Linked DNA regions of Homo sapiens: region 2 is linked to region 1. The links are contacts of gene promoters, found by promoter capture Hi-C in human tissues and cell types (Jung and others, 2019). All regions are on one chromosome and are shown on one strand. Each heading gives the region's core, a stretch centred on a gene start or on the middle of the fragment in contact. The rest is flanking DNA. Distances are from core to core; before and after follow the strand shown.

Region 1 (6,004 bases), core at 115-2,614:
GATTTCAACAGCACACCCCCACCACCACCACCAAAGTCGTCACAATTAAAAAGTATCCCTAGGCTGGGTGCAGTGGCTCACACCTCTAATCCCAGCACTTTGAGAGGCCAAAACAGGCAGATTACTTGAGGCCAGGAGTTCGAGACCAGCCTGGCCAACATGGCGAAACCCCATCTCTACTAAAAATACAAAAATTAGCTGGCGCGGTGGCATGTACCTGTAATCCCAGCTACTCGGAAGCCTGAGGCAGGAGAATCGCTTGAACCCGGGAAGCAGAGGTTGCAGTGAGCCGAGATCGTGCCACTGCGCTCCAGCCTGGGCAACAGAGCAAGGCTCCATCTCAAAAAGAAAAAGTCTCGGCCAGGTGCGGTGGCTCACGCCTGTAATCCCAGCACTTTGGGAAGCCGAGGAGGGCAGATCATGAGGTCAGGAGATCGAGACCATCCTGGCTAACACGGTGAAACCCCGTCTCTACTAAAAATACAAAAAATTAGCCGGGCATGTGGCGGACACCTGTAGTCCCAGCTACTCAGGAGGCTGAGGCAGGAGAATGGTGTGAACCTGGGAGGCAGAGCTTGCAGTAACTGAGATCACGCCACTGCACTCCAGCCTAGTGACAGAGCGAGACTCCGTCTCAAAAAAAAAAAAGTCTCCCTAGACATTGCAATGTCCCCTAGGGGGCAGAATTCCCCTTACTCGAGAACCCCCTAGTCTAATGCATTTAGCTTATTTCAACCTCAGGGCCTTTGCACGTCCTGTACTTTAGTGCTCTATGCTGCATCTGTTCATGTTGTTCACATTTTAGCTTCAATGCTACCTCCTCCTGAGAGGCTGTCTCTGACCATCCCATTGCGTAGTGACCCCTTAAGTCACTCCCAATGCCATCGCCTTATTTTAATTTTCTGCATGGTACTCACCAACAGCTGATATGTTTCTACATGTTATTGTTTGTCTGTCCCACGAGAAAGTGAATTCCATGAGCCCAAGGATCTTGTCTGGTAAGGCTGGCGTGCCTGGCACATAGTAGGTGCTCAGTAAATTATCATCACAACAGCTTCCTCCACAACTGTTTCTCTTTCTGGACTTCTGTTTGTTGCTGAAGAAGACAGCTGAGCAGGACTGGGCTTCCCCAGTAAGGACAGAGGCCCTTTGCAGTGTCAGCGTTCTGGCTGTCCTGGGGGCTCCAGCCTCTCTTTAGCCTTTGCTGGTAGTTGAACGACCAATTTAGACTCCTCTGGGGAAATAGGTTAGAGAGGACAGTTTCCTGGCCTCGGCGCCACCCGGAAGACAAGCCCCTGGCTATCCTAGTAACTTTCGTCTTAGGTATTTTATGGGTCTCTCCTTGCCCAATTCTCCCAGCAACTGGGATAATGAAAGCGATTGTTTGCACTAGGGCACCAGCTTAGCCGGGCATTCAGCCCAGACTTAGTGGTTAACTATTGTGTGCCAGGCTGATACGGCTCCTCGTAAAAGATGCCATTTGCTGACAGTCTAGGAGGTGCAGTTGGTTGGCATTTGGCATTAGCAGTCCACATTATTACCCCAAGAGACAGACATTATGATCCTGTTTCACAGATGAAGAAAACAAGATGCAGAAAGGTGAAGTCCCTTGCCTGTGACGCTTCACTACTCTGCACTTGAATTTTCTCACTAACTTCCTGTGTTGGTGAGACAATGAAAAGCATTTATATAGAGAGTGAGACTAACACTACACCTACATCACAGGAAGGGCCCGTGAGATGTTAGCCATGATTAATTACCATTAAAACTCCAAGACCGGGCACGGTGGCTCATGCCTGTAATCCCAGCACTTTGGGAGGCCGAGGCAGGCGGATCACCTGAGGTCAGGCATTCAAGACCAGACTGGCCAATATGGTGAGACCCCTATCTCTACTAAAAATAGAAAAATTAGCTGGGCGTGGTGACGCATGCCTGTAATCCCAGCTACTTGGGAGGCTGAGGCACAAGAATTGTTTGAACCTGGGAGTTGGAGGTTGCAATGAGCCGAGATCCTGCCACTGCACTGCAGCCTGGGCGACAGAGCAAGACTTTGTCTCAAAAACTCACAAATCACCCGGGCATGGTGGCTCACGCTAGTAATCCCAGCACTTTGGGAGGCCAAGGCAGGCAGATCACGAGGTCAGGAGATCAAGACCATCCTGGCTAACACGGTGAAACCCCGTCTCTACAAAAAAAACAAAACAAAACAAAACAAAAAATTAGCTGGGCGTGGTGGTTTGCACCTGTAGTCCCAGCTACTCAGGAAGCTGAGGCAGGAGAATGGCATGAACCCGGGAGGTGGAGCTTGCAGTGAGCCGAGATCGCACCACTGCACTCCAGCCTGGGTGACAGAGCGAGACTTTGTCTCAAAAACTCACAAGTCACCCAGGCATGGTGGCTCACGCCAGTAATCCCAGCACTTTGGGAGGCCAAGGCAGGCAGATCACGAGGTCAGGAGATCAAGACCATCCTGGCTAACATGGTGAAACCCTGTCTCTACATAAAAAACAAAAAACAAAAAACAAAAAATTAGCTGGGCGTGGTGGTTTGCACCTGTAGTCCCAGCTACTCAGGAAGCTGAGGCAGGAGAATGGCATGAACCTGGGAGGTGGAGCTTGCAGTGAGCCGAGATTGCGCCACTGCACTCCAGCCTGGGCGACAGAGCAAGCCTCCATCTCAAAGAAAAAGTAATAATAATAGTGTTACTATATTTTCAGGGATAGAAGTTTCAGATACTTGGTCAGGCGCGGTGGCTCATGCCTGTAATCCCAGCACTTTGGGAGGCCGAGGTGGGCAAATCACCTGAGGTCAGGAATTTGAGACCAGCTTGGCCAATATGGTGAGACCCCATCTCTACTAAAAACAAAAATTAGCCAGGCATGGTGGCAGGTGCCTGTAATCCCAGCTACTTGGGAGGCTGAGGCAGGAGGATCACTTAAACCTGGGAGGCAGAGGTTGCAGTGAGCAGAGATTACGCCATTGCACTCCAGCCTGGACGACAGAGCCACACTACACTCCATCTCACAAAAAAAAAAAAAAAAGAAGTTTCAGGTGCTGCCAGGCACAGTGGCATGCTCCTGTAGTCCCAGCTACTGGGGAAGCCAAGGTGGGAGGATCACTCAAGGCCAGGAGTTCAAGACCAGCCTGGGCAACATAGTGAGACCCTCATCTCTACAACAACAACAATAACAAAAAATTAGCTGGGCGTGGTGGTGTGTGCCTGTAGTCCCAACTACTCGGGAGGTTGAGGTGGGAGGATTACTTGAGCCCAGAAAGTCAAGGCTGCAGTGAGATATGATTGCCTCACTGCACTCTAGCCTGGGCAACAGAGCAAAACCCTGTCTCTTTAAAACAAAAAAAGAAAAAGAAAAGAAAAGAAGTTTTAGGGGCTGAAATTTTAGGAAACATACTGTCTCCAATACTCCAAGCAATCTGGGGGCTTCAATTTACTATCCCAGTTCATTGATGATGAAAACAGGCTTCCAGACCAACGTGATGAAACCCTGTCTCTACTAAAAATACAAAAATTAGCTGGGCGTGGTGGTGAGCACCTGTAATCCCAGCTACTCGAGAGGCTGAGGCAGGAGAATCGCATGAACCCGGAAGGCGGAGGTTGCAGTGAGCCGAGATCACGCCATTGCACTCCAGCCTGGGTGACAAAGTGAGACTGCGTTTAAAAAAAAAAAGAAGAAGAAAGAAAATAGGCTTCAAAGAAGTTAAACAATTTCCCAAGTTTCCTTGGCAAGGAAGTGAGCTAACAGCCAAATTCGGATATGATTCCAAAACTCCACAGTTATTGGCTAAACTGGAATCTACAGATATTAAAAAATTATTGGCAAAGTTTTTGCAGTGTGACAATGGTATTGCGGTGAGGTTTTTGTTTTTATTTTTGTTTTTGTTTTCGAGACAGTTTTGCTCTTGTCATCCAGGCTGGAGTGCAATGGCATGATCTTGGCTTACTGCAACCTCCGCCTCCCACGTTCAAGCAATTCTCCTGTCTCACCCTCCCGAGTAGCTGGGATTAGAGGCACCTGCCACCACACCTGGCTAATATTTTGTATTTTTAGTAGAGACGGGGTTTCACCATGTTGTCCAGGCTGGTCTGGAACTCCTGACCTCAGGTGATGCACCCGCCTCGGCCTCCCAAAGTGCTGGGATTACAGGCATGAGCCACCATGCCCAGACTGGTTAGGCTTTTAAAGAGTCTGGGCCAGGTGCAGTGCCTCATGCCTGTTATCCCAGCAGTTTGGGAGGCCAAGGCAGGAGGATCACTTAAGCTCAGGAGTTCAAGACCAGACTGGCCAACATATTGAGACTCCATTTTTACAAAAAATTAAAAAATTAACTAGACATGGTGCATGTGCCAGTGGTCCCTGCTACTCTGAGGTGGAAGGATCACTTGAACCTGGGAAGTTGAGGCTGCAATGAGTCGTGATCACGCCACTGTGCTCCAGCTTGGGCAACAGAGTGAGACCCTGTCTCAAAAAAAAAAAAAAAAGAGTGTGTATGTTTTAGAGACATATAACAAAATATTTATGGAATGATAAGATAGCTGAGATTTGCTTCAAAATAATACCTGACAGGAAGGCAAATGGGATGGGGGCGGGGTTGGCGAGGTTGAGTAGGGGGTGATGGTGGTTAGGGTGGGCTGCGGTTCATTATACTATTCTGCCTACTTTAGTGAGTGTTTTAAATTCCCTATCAGAATATGCTTCAATTTTGTACTCTTAAAAAATAGTGGCTGGGGCCGGGCACACTCCCAGCACTTTGGGAGGCCCAGGCGGGATGATCACTTGAGGCCCAGAGTTTGAGACCAGCCTGGCCAACATGGTGAAATCCCATCTCTACTAAAAATACAAAAAAAAAAAAAAATTAGCCAGGCGTGGTGGTGCATGCCTGTAATCCCAGCTACTTGGGAGGCAGAAGCAGGAGAATTGCTCGAACCCAGGAGGCGGAAGTTGCAGTGAGCTGAGATCACACCACTGCACTCCAGCCTGGGGGACAGAGCAAGACTGTCTCAAAAAAAAAAAAAAATAGTGGCTGGGAATGTTGGCTGACGCCTGTAATCCCAGCATTTTGGGAGGCTGAGGCAGGTGGATTGCTTGAGCCCAGGAGTTCGAGACCAGCCTGGACAATATAGTGAGATCCCATATCTACAAAAAATAAAAATTCACCAGACTTGGTGGTGCATGCCTGTAGTCCCAGCTACTGGGCAGGCTGAGGTGGGAGGATCACTTGAGCCCAAGAGGTTGAGGCTGCAGTGAGCTATGACTGCACCACTGCACTCCAGCCTGGGTGACAGAGCAAGACCCTGTTTTAAAAAAAAAAAAAAAAATCGTGATTATCCTTATGCATTGAGTAACCACGAGCCCAGGGCTAGGGGATTTCTGTGTAGTCAACCTTAGAACCAACACAGGGGTTAGGAGTGCCAAGCTCACCCCTACAGTCAAAAATCTGCATGTAACTTTTGACTGCATGTAACACCTACTATTGACCAAAAGCCTTATTGATGACATAAATGGTCGATGAACACTGATTTTCTACATTCTATGTATTATATACTGTATTCTTGCAATAAGTAAGCTAGAGAAAAGCAAATGTCACTAAAAAAATTCTGGTGTTTTGTTTTTGTTTTGTTTTTTGTTTGTTTGTTTCATTATTTGAGATGGAGTCTCACTCTGTTGCCCAGGCTGGAGTGCAGTGGCATGACCTCAACTCACTGCAACCTCTGCCTCCTGGGTTCAAGCGATTCTCCTGCCTCAGCCTCTGAGTAGCTGGGATTACAGGCGCCCACCACCACGCCTGGCTAATTTTTGTATTTTTAGTAGAGGCAGGGTTTTGCCATGTTGGCTAGGCTGGTCTTGAACTCCTGGCCTCAGGTGATCCACCCGTCTTGGCCTCTAAAGTGCTGGGATTACAGGAGTGAGCCACTGTGCCCGTCCAAACTTCAAAGGAAGAGAAAACATATTTACTATGGATGAAGTGGAAGTGGATCATCACAAAA
Region 2 (5,370 bases), core at 1,926-4,425, 140 kb after region 1:
ACCTGTGTGCTGAGGGTTGTGCTGGTGGCCCCAGTTCACCCTCTGCCTGGATGCAAACTGTTCTTCCTCAGTATCTATGCTAGCTGTGATGCCTATGACCTGAGACCAGGCCTCCCTGCTTGGTTTTTCTGAGATTCCAGAAGGACGAGATTAATGTTCACATTCCTATTGGCCCATGTGTACCTGATCATGCCTCATGGATTTCCATTCTAAGACCTGAAAGTGTTCGGTGTGACAGTGGAGTCAGTTCCATCAACATTCATGTACCAGGCGGCTGGGCTGGACCTGCATGTATACCTGTGCCACACCTGGTCCCACCTGCTAACTTCCTGCCCTGCCTGCCTTTGGAGCAGGCACCCCAGGGAGGTCCCACCTGCTTCCAGAGTGCTCCTTGCTGCATTTACCCCTGCTTCTCCTAGTAGCTGCATGGAGGTTCTGCTGTCGACACCCCCCACCCCCACCCAACACCCTTGCCCTTCACAGGCACTTCCCGCAGCAATGAAGAGGCCAAACTGAAGCAAATTAAGTGGGCAGGGGCGGTCAGTGTTGGTAGAAAGGGGAGGCAACGCCTGTCTTCGTTGATGGTTAAGGAAGTTCAGACCCATCTGCATCTATTGAGGGGTCCCTAGTGGAGAAGTGAGAGGCTACAGTTCCTGACGGGATTCCTGCCCCTTTGGGAAAGCAACTTGGCAGGTGTTTTGAGAGGTTTTTTTGGACTGGGAACAAATCCCAAGGGAGAATCCAAAGGAGGAGGGGGCCTCAGATGTGCCAGGCTATTCCTGACAGCAAGAGGCTGCAATTGGCCATCGGGCCACAGACATGGCCCTGGCAAGCCTGAAGAGCTGCCTTAAAGCCATCTTTTGAGGCCATCGCCTGGAGCGGCTCCCCATGTGGAGTCAAACTGTGTCTGTGCTGAGATTAGGATCTAGTGTACTTCCCCAGATAGATGGACAGGTGCCAAGGGCATCCCAGAAACAGGGCAAGGGCAGGTGGTCTGTGGGGGCAGTCGCTAAGGGGGATAGAAGACAGGTTGTGAAGGAGCCACCTTGGGTCTTTTGGGTCTGTTTTTCCTCCCGGTGTCCTTACCCATGGCCTCTCCCCTGCCGCAGGGCTTTGGTGCTGTCTGGCCAGCTCCCTGCCCATCCTTCTCCAGCTCTTTTCTGCTTTCCAGCATGGAAGTCGGTCTCCAGCCCAGGTGGACACAGCTCGTTCTGCCACATCCTTTTTTGACCTCCCTGGGAGGCCACCTTAGGTGCTGCCCTCCCCCTGTGGCCTGCCTCCCTGCCCTGAGGGTTCATGCTGGACTTAGCAGGCCTGGAGTCAGAGCGGGAGCCTCCCCTCAGCCACATACGAGTCCTGGTGTCTCTGTCACTCACAGAGGGCCACCTCCATGAGAGTGGGAGACCTGCCACTCCTGGGTGGGGGGTCAGTTGGTTGTTAAGGCAGGGTCCCCAGGGCCAGGGTCAGAAGCCAGCTCCTATTTTGCTCCTATGGGACCAGCACCAATTGGGTGCTAAGTGTTCTTTGGGACAGACTGTGGCCATCTATAAAGAGGCTCTGTGGAGCCTTCTGGCTCAGTGTGCCTGGGGTCGGGGCCAGGCCCTTTGCAGGGATTCCTCGCTGCATTGCTCAGTGTCTGCCTCCTGGGCCTGGGAGGCCTGTGTCTGGATGCCCAGGTGGTGCTCCCCACACAGTGTTCAGACTGCTTGACATCAATGCCCCAGAGGTCGCAGGGCAGGGCAGTCTCACCTTGCCCCCATCCTTAGCTCTGCTGACATCACTGACTGCCTTCTGCTGGCTCCAGGGAGTGGCCGCACTGGACACTCACCCTCTCTCTGTGTCTTACACAACACACATTTATCATCTCAGGCTCTAGGGCTCAGAAGTCAGCTCCAGTCTCACCGGGCTGGGATCCAGGAAGCAGCGAGCTGCGCTCCTCTCTGGAGGATCCATTTTCTGCCCCTTCAGGTGTTGGCAGAGTTCATCTGTTTACGGCGTAGGACTGTGGGTTTCTAGCACCTTACAGGTAGAGCAGGCGGGCTCCTCTACTCCTCAGGTGAGCAGCTCACACGGTGGGGACAGAAAGGGGACTGCCAAGGCTGTAGCATTTCCCTTGGGGCTCCTAGAGGCTGAAGGCCTCTCTGCACACGCTTAAGCGTGGCTCATAAGGCAGGGGAGGGGCCAAGGGTAAGGATACACAGTCACAGGGCCCTCACACCTTCGCCTGGTGTCCCCAGCTCCCACACAGTTTCCAGGAGACTCTTGGGACTGGCTGTTAGTTCAGCGGTGATTTCTGGGGCACCAGCTCAGTACCAGACCCTGGGGTTGCCCAGGTGTTCTGTCTCCTCCCTCTTGTCTGGCAGCAGGATGGTGTCTGCCCAAGGACAAGGACACTTTGTGCCACCAGGCTAGCTGGGTCTGGGCAGTGTTCTGCTCTGCAAGGACTGCTGCTTCAGGAGTATGTGGGGAACCAGGGCTCCAAATATACCAGGGTGAGGTCAGCAGGGTGGAGGTGAAGCCATGTGGCAAGCCCAGGGACTGAGTCGGTGCTGGAGTGCCTGGGGCAGGGAGTGGTTGGCCTTGCTGTCTGTCTGGGACTGGCCTCCTCATCGCACAGTCTTCCCCTGCACTGATCCCTGCCCATTGCACGAGGAGTGCGGACAGGACTGTATCTCCCCTCATATCACCCGTCCACCCCCACCATGACACAGCTTGAAGCAGGGTTTTCAGGGTCATTTGGAGCCCTGAATGGAGAACATTGCAAGGCAAGGCCGTTGTTGCCAAAGAGCAAATGGGCCCATTGGCAGGGCAGCTTTGTGGGAGTTCTGCGGGGACTGCTGTCGTGGCTCTGCAACTTTACACCCAGAGGAGACAACACGGGAAGGGAGGGAGTGGCAGTGGCTGCCTCCCACTGGAAGTGGGGCAGAAGAGTAGAAAAGCCAGAATCCATGAGGCCAGCAGAATTAACAGCCCTCAAGGACGTCCACATTCTAGTCCTGGAGCCTGGGCACATGGTACCGTACATGACAGATGTGACTAAGGGAACAGCCTGGAGATGGGGAGGTGATCCGAGATCATCTGGGCAGGCCCTGCCTAGTCAGGGAGTCCTTAGAGATGGCACCTATCCTGGCTGGGTCAGAGAGATGCCGGGTGAGGACTCAGCCTGTAGCTGGCTTTGAGCATAAGGGGAGGGGGTGTGAGCTGGATGCAGTGCCCTCCAGAAGCTGGGAATGGCTTCGGATGACAACCAGCAAGAAAATGGGCCTCATTCCTGTAGTGTAAAGAGCTGAACTCTGGGCCGGGTGCAGTGGCTCACGCTTGTAATCCCAGCACTTTGGGAGGCCGAGGAGGGCAGATCACCTGAGGTCAGGAGTTCAAGACCAGCCTTCAACATGGTGAAACCCTGTCCCTACTAAAAAAAAATACAAAAATTAGCTGGGCGTGGTGGCGGGTGCCTATAATCTCAGCTACTCGGGAGGCTGAGGCAGGAGAATTGCTTGAACCCAGGAGACGGAGGTTGCAGTGAGCCGAGATCGTGCCATTGCACTCCAGCCTGGGCGACAAGAGTGAAACTTCATCTCAAAAAAAAAAACAAAATAAGAGCTGAACTCTGCTAACACCTGAAGGAGCAGGAAATGGATCCTCTAGAGAGGATCCCAGCCCAGTGAGACTCAGACCTGATTTCTGAGCCCTAGAGCCTAAGATGATAAATGTGTGCTGTGTAAGATGCTAAGTTTACAATCATGTGTTACGGAAACTCTTGCCACGCAGTCTTGGCAAGGATGTGGCCTGGTGGGAATGGAATAGAGCAGCCTCCCTGGGGGTGAGGTGACCACCCTGCATGGATGTGGAGCCCCAGCTCCTCCATGGCTGTCTGTGCACTAGCTCAGAGTCAGGTCTGTCACTGCCGTCGGTTGCAGCCTTATTTTGTAATGGCGGACGGAAAGTGCCTAAGTGTCCCACAGCATTCAAGTCGGGCCTTCCCCACTCTGGAAGGGATGGTGAGCCAAATGAGGGGCTCTGTTTGAGGCTGGACATTGCTGACATTAAGTCAGAAAAGGCAAGAACCACTGTCAGTTTGGTTTTGAAATATGTGATAAGTGTGGATGTATACGCCTATATACACAAGGGATATTTTTGGAAAAAAATGCAAGGAAATGCTACAGTGGCTGGGTCAGAGATGCCCATTTCCTTGTGTGCCCTTTTATGCTGTTTTAATTTGTATCATGTGCCCGCTTAACTCCTTTATCATGTTGGGGTGGGGGGGAGTTGAGTAATCTACTCACTGTGGTTTCCTCAGGGCCCCTGGGCTCCCACCCGCTAGCCAGCCCACCAGAAACCTGTAGTTGCTGGAGGTGGTGGTTGAGTGGTAGGAATTCTTGTTGTAACAATTAAGGGAGTCAGTAATGTGTGGGAAGTGCTTAGAACAAGGTGTGGCTCCTAGCAAGATCCTAAAAGGGAGGGATTACTTGGTCATGGGATGTGTTCATGCTTCACTCTGCCAGACAAAGCCCAGCAGTCCCCAAAGTCAGCTGTATCCCCCGAAGTACCTAGTGTTGTCAGTGGGGCACGTGTATCATGTATCCATTTGTGGGTTCAGTTTGAGTTTTCCTGATTATCGATAAAGCTGAGAGGCTGAGCATCAGCACTGACATTTCATTGCCGTGTGCCTGTTCCTGTCTTGTGGCCAGTCTACGCCGGGCTCCTGGTCAGCTGTACTGCTGTACAGGCATTCTGTGTTCCAGATACAGCTCCTTGGGGGCCTGTGGCCTATGCCTTCTCCCACTTTGTGACTTTCTGCTCTCTTTATGGTGTCTTTGGATTCAGATTGACTGGTTTATCATTATTATTATTATTATTATTTTTTACACGGAGTCTTGCTCTGTCACCCAGGCTGGAGTGCAGTGGTGTGGTCTCAGCTCACTACACCCTCCGCCTCCCGGGTTCAAGTGGTTCTCGTGCCTCAGCCTCCCAAGTAGCTGGAACTACAGGCGCATGCCAGCACACCCAACTAATTTTTGTATTTTTAATAGAGATGGGGTTTCACTGTGTTGGCCAGGCTGGTCTCAAACTCCTGACCTTCTGATCCGCCTTCGTCAGCCTCCCAAAGTGCTGGGATTACAGGTGTCAGCCACCGCGCCTGGCCTGTGTATTGATCTTTTAAGCTTTGTGGATTTTATTCGATGAATTCTTCCGTGTCTCCTCTCCCACTCCCATCAGATGGCAGAGTAGAGGTCATCTTAAGTATCAGGAGCAGCTCTTGTTCCACAGGCATCCTGGGTTTCAGCAGGTGGGTGGGTATGTACCATGTACACTGGAGGGCTTGGGGCAGCCCGCACACCACACACTGGAGGAGGTCAGACGGCAGGT

The links. Contacts are between HindIII fragments. The study calls those that stand out against the background at their distance.
Region 2: a contact is called between a fragment that was not itself captured here and the fragment with the promoter of NWD1 in region 1, in 1 of the 25 tissues and cell types used here (adrenal gland).

What each region holds. Positions count from the first base shown.
Region 1 is chr19:16,715,207-16,721,210 of GRCh38, reverse strand. NWD1 (NACHT and WD repeat domain containing 1) reads right to left here and starts at 1,364. Exons shown (of 19, transcript NM_001007525.5): 1 at 918-1,364. The HindIII fragment of the contact is 25,691 bases long and covers 1-6,004 here.
Region 2 is chr19:16,578,597-16,583,966 of GRCh38, reverse strand. The region is part of intron 1 of MED26 (mediator complex subunit 26); the gene reads left to right. It overlaps LOC105372295 (a long non-coding RNA gene), which reads right to left. Exons shown (of 3, transcript XR_936360.3): 3 at 5,153-5,370. Among named protein-coding and RNA genes, the nearest start is that of SLC35E1, 8.9 kb to the right of the region's middle. RefSeq lists enhancers at 1-37, 834-1,405, 1,406-1,977 and a silencer at 2,155-2,204. The HindIII fragment of the contact is 7,303 bases long and covers 1-5,370 here.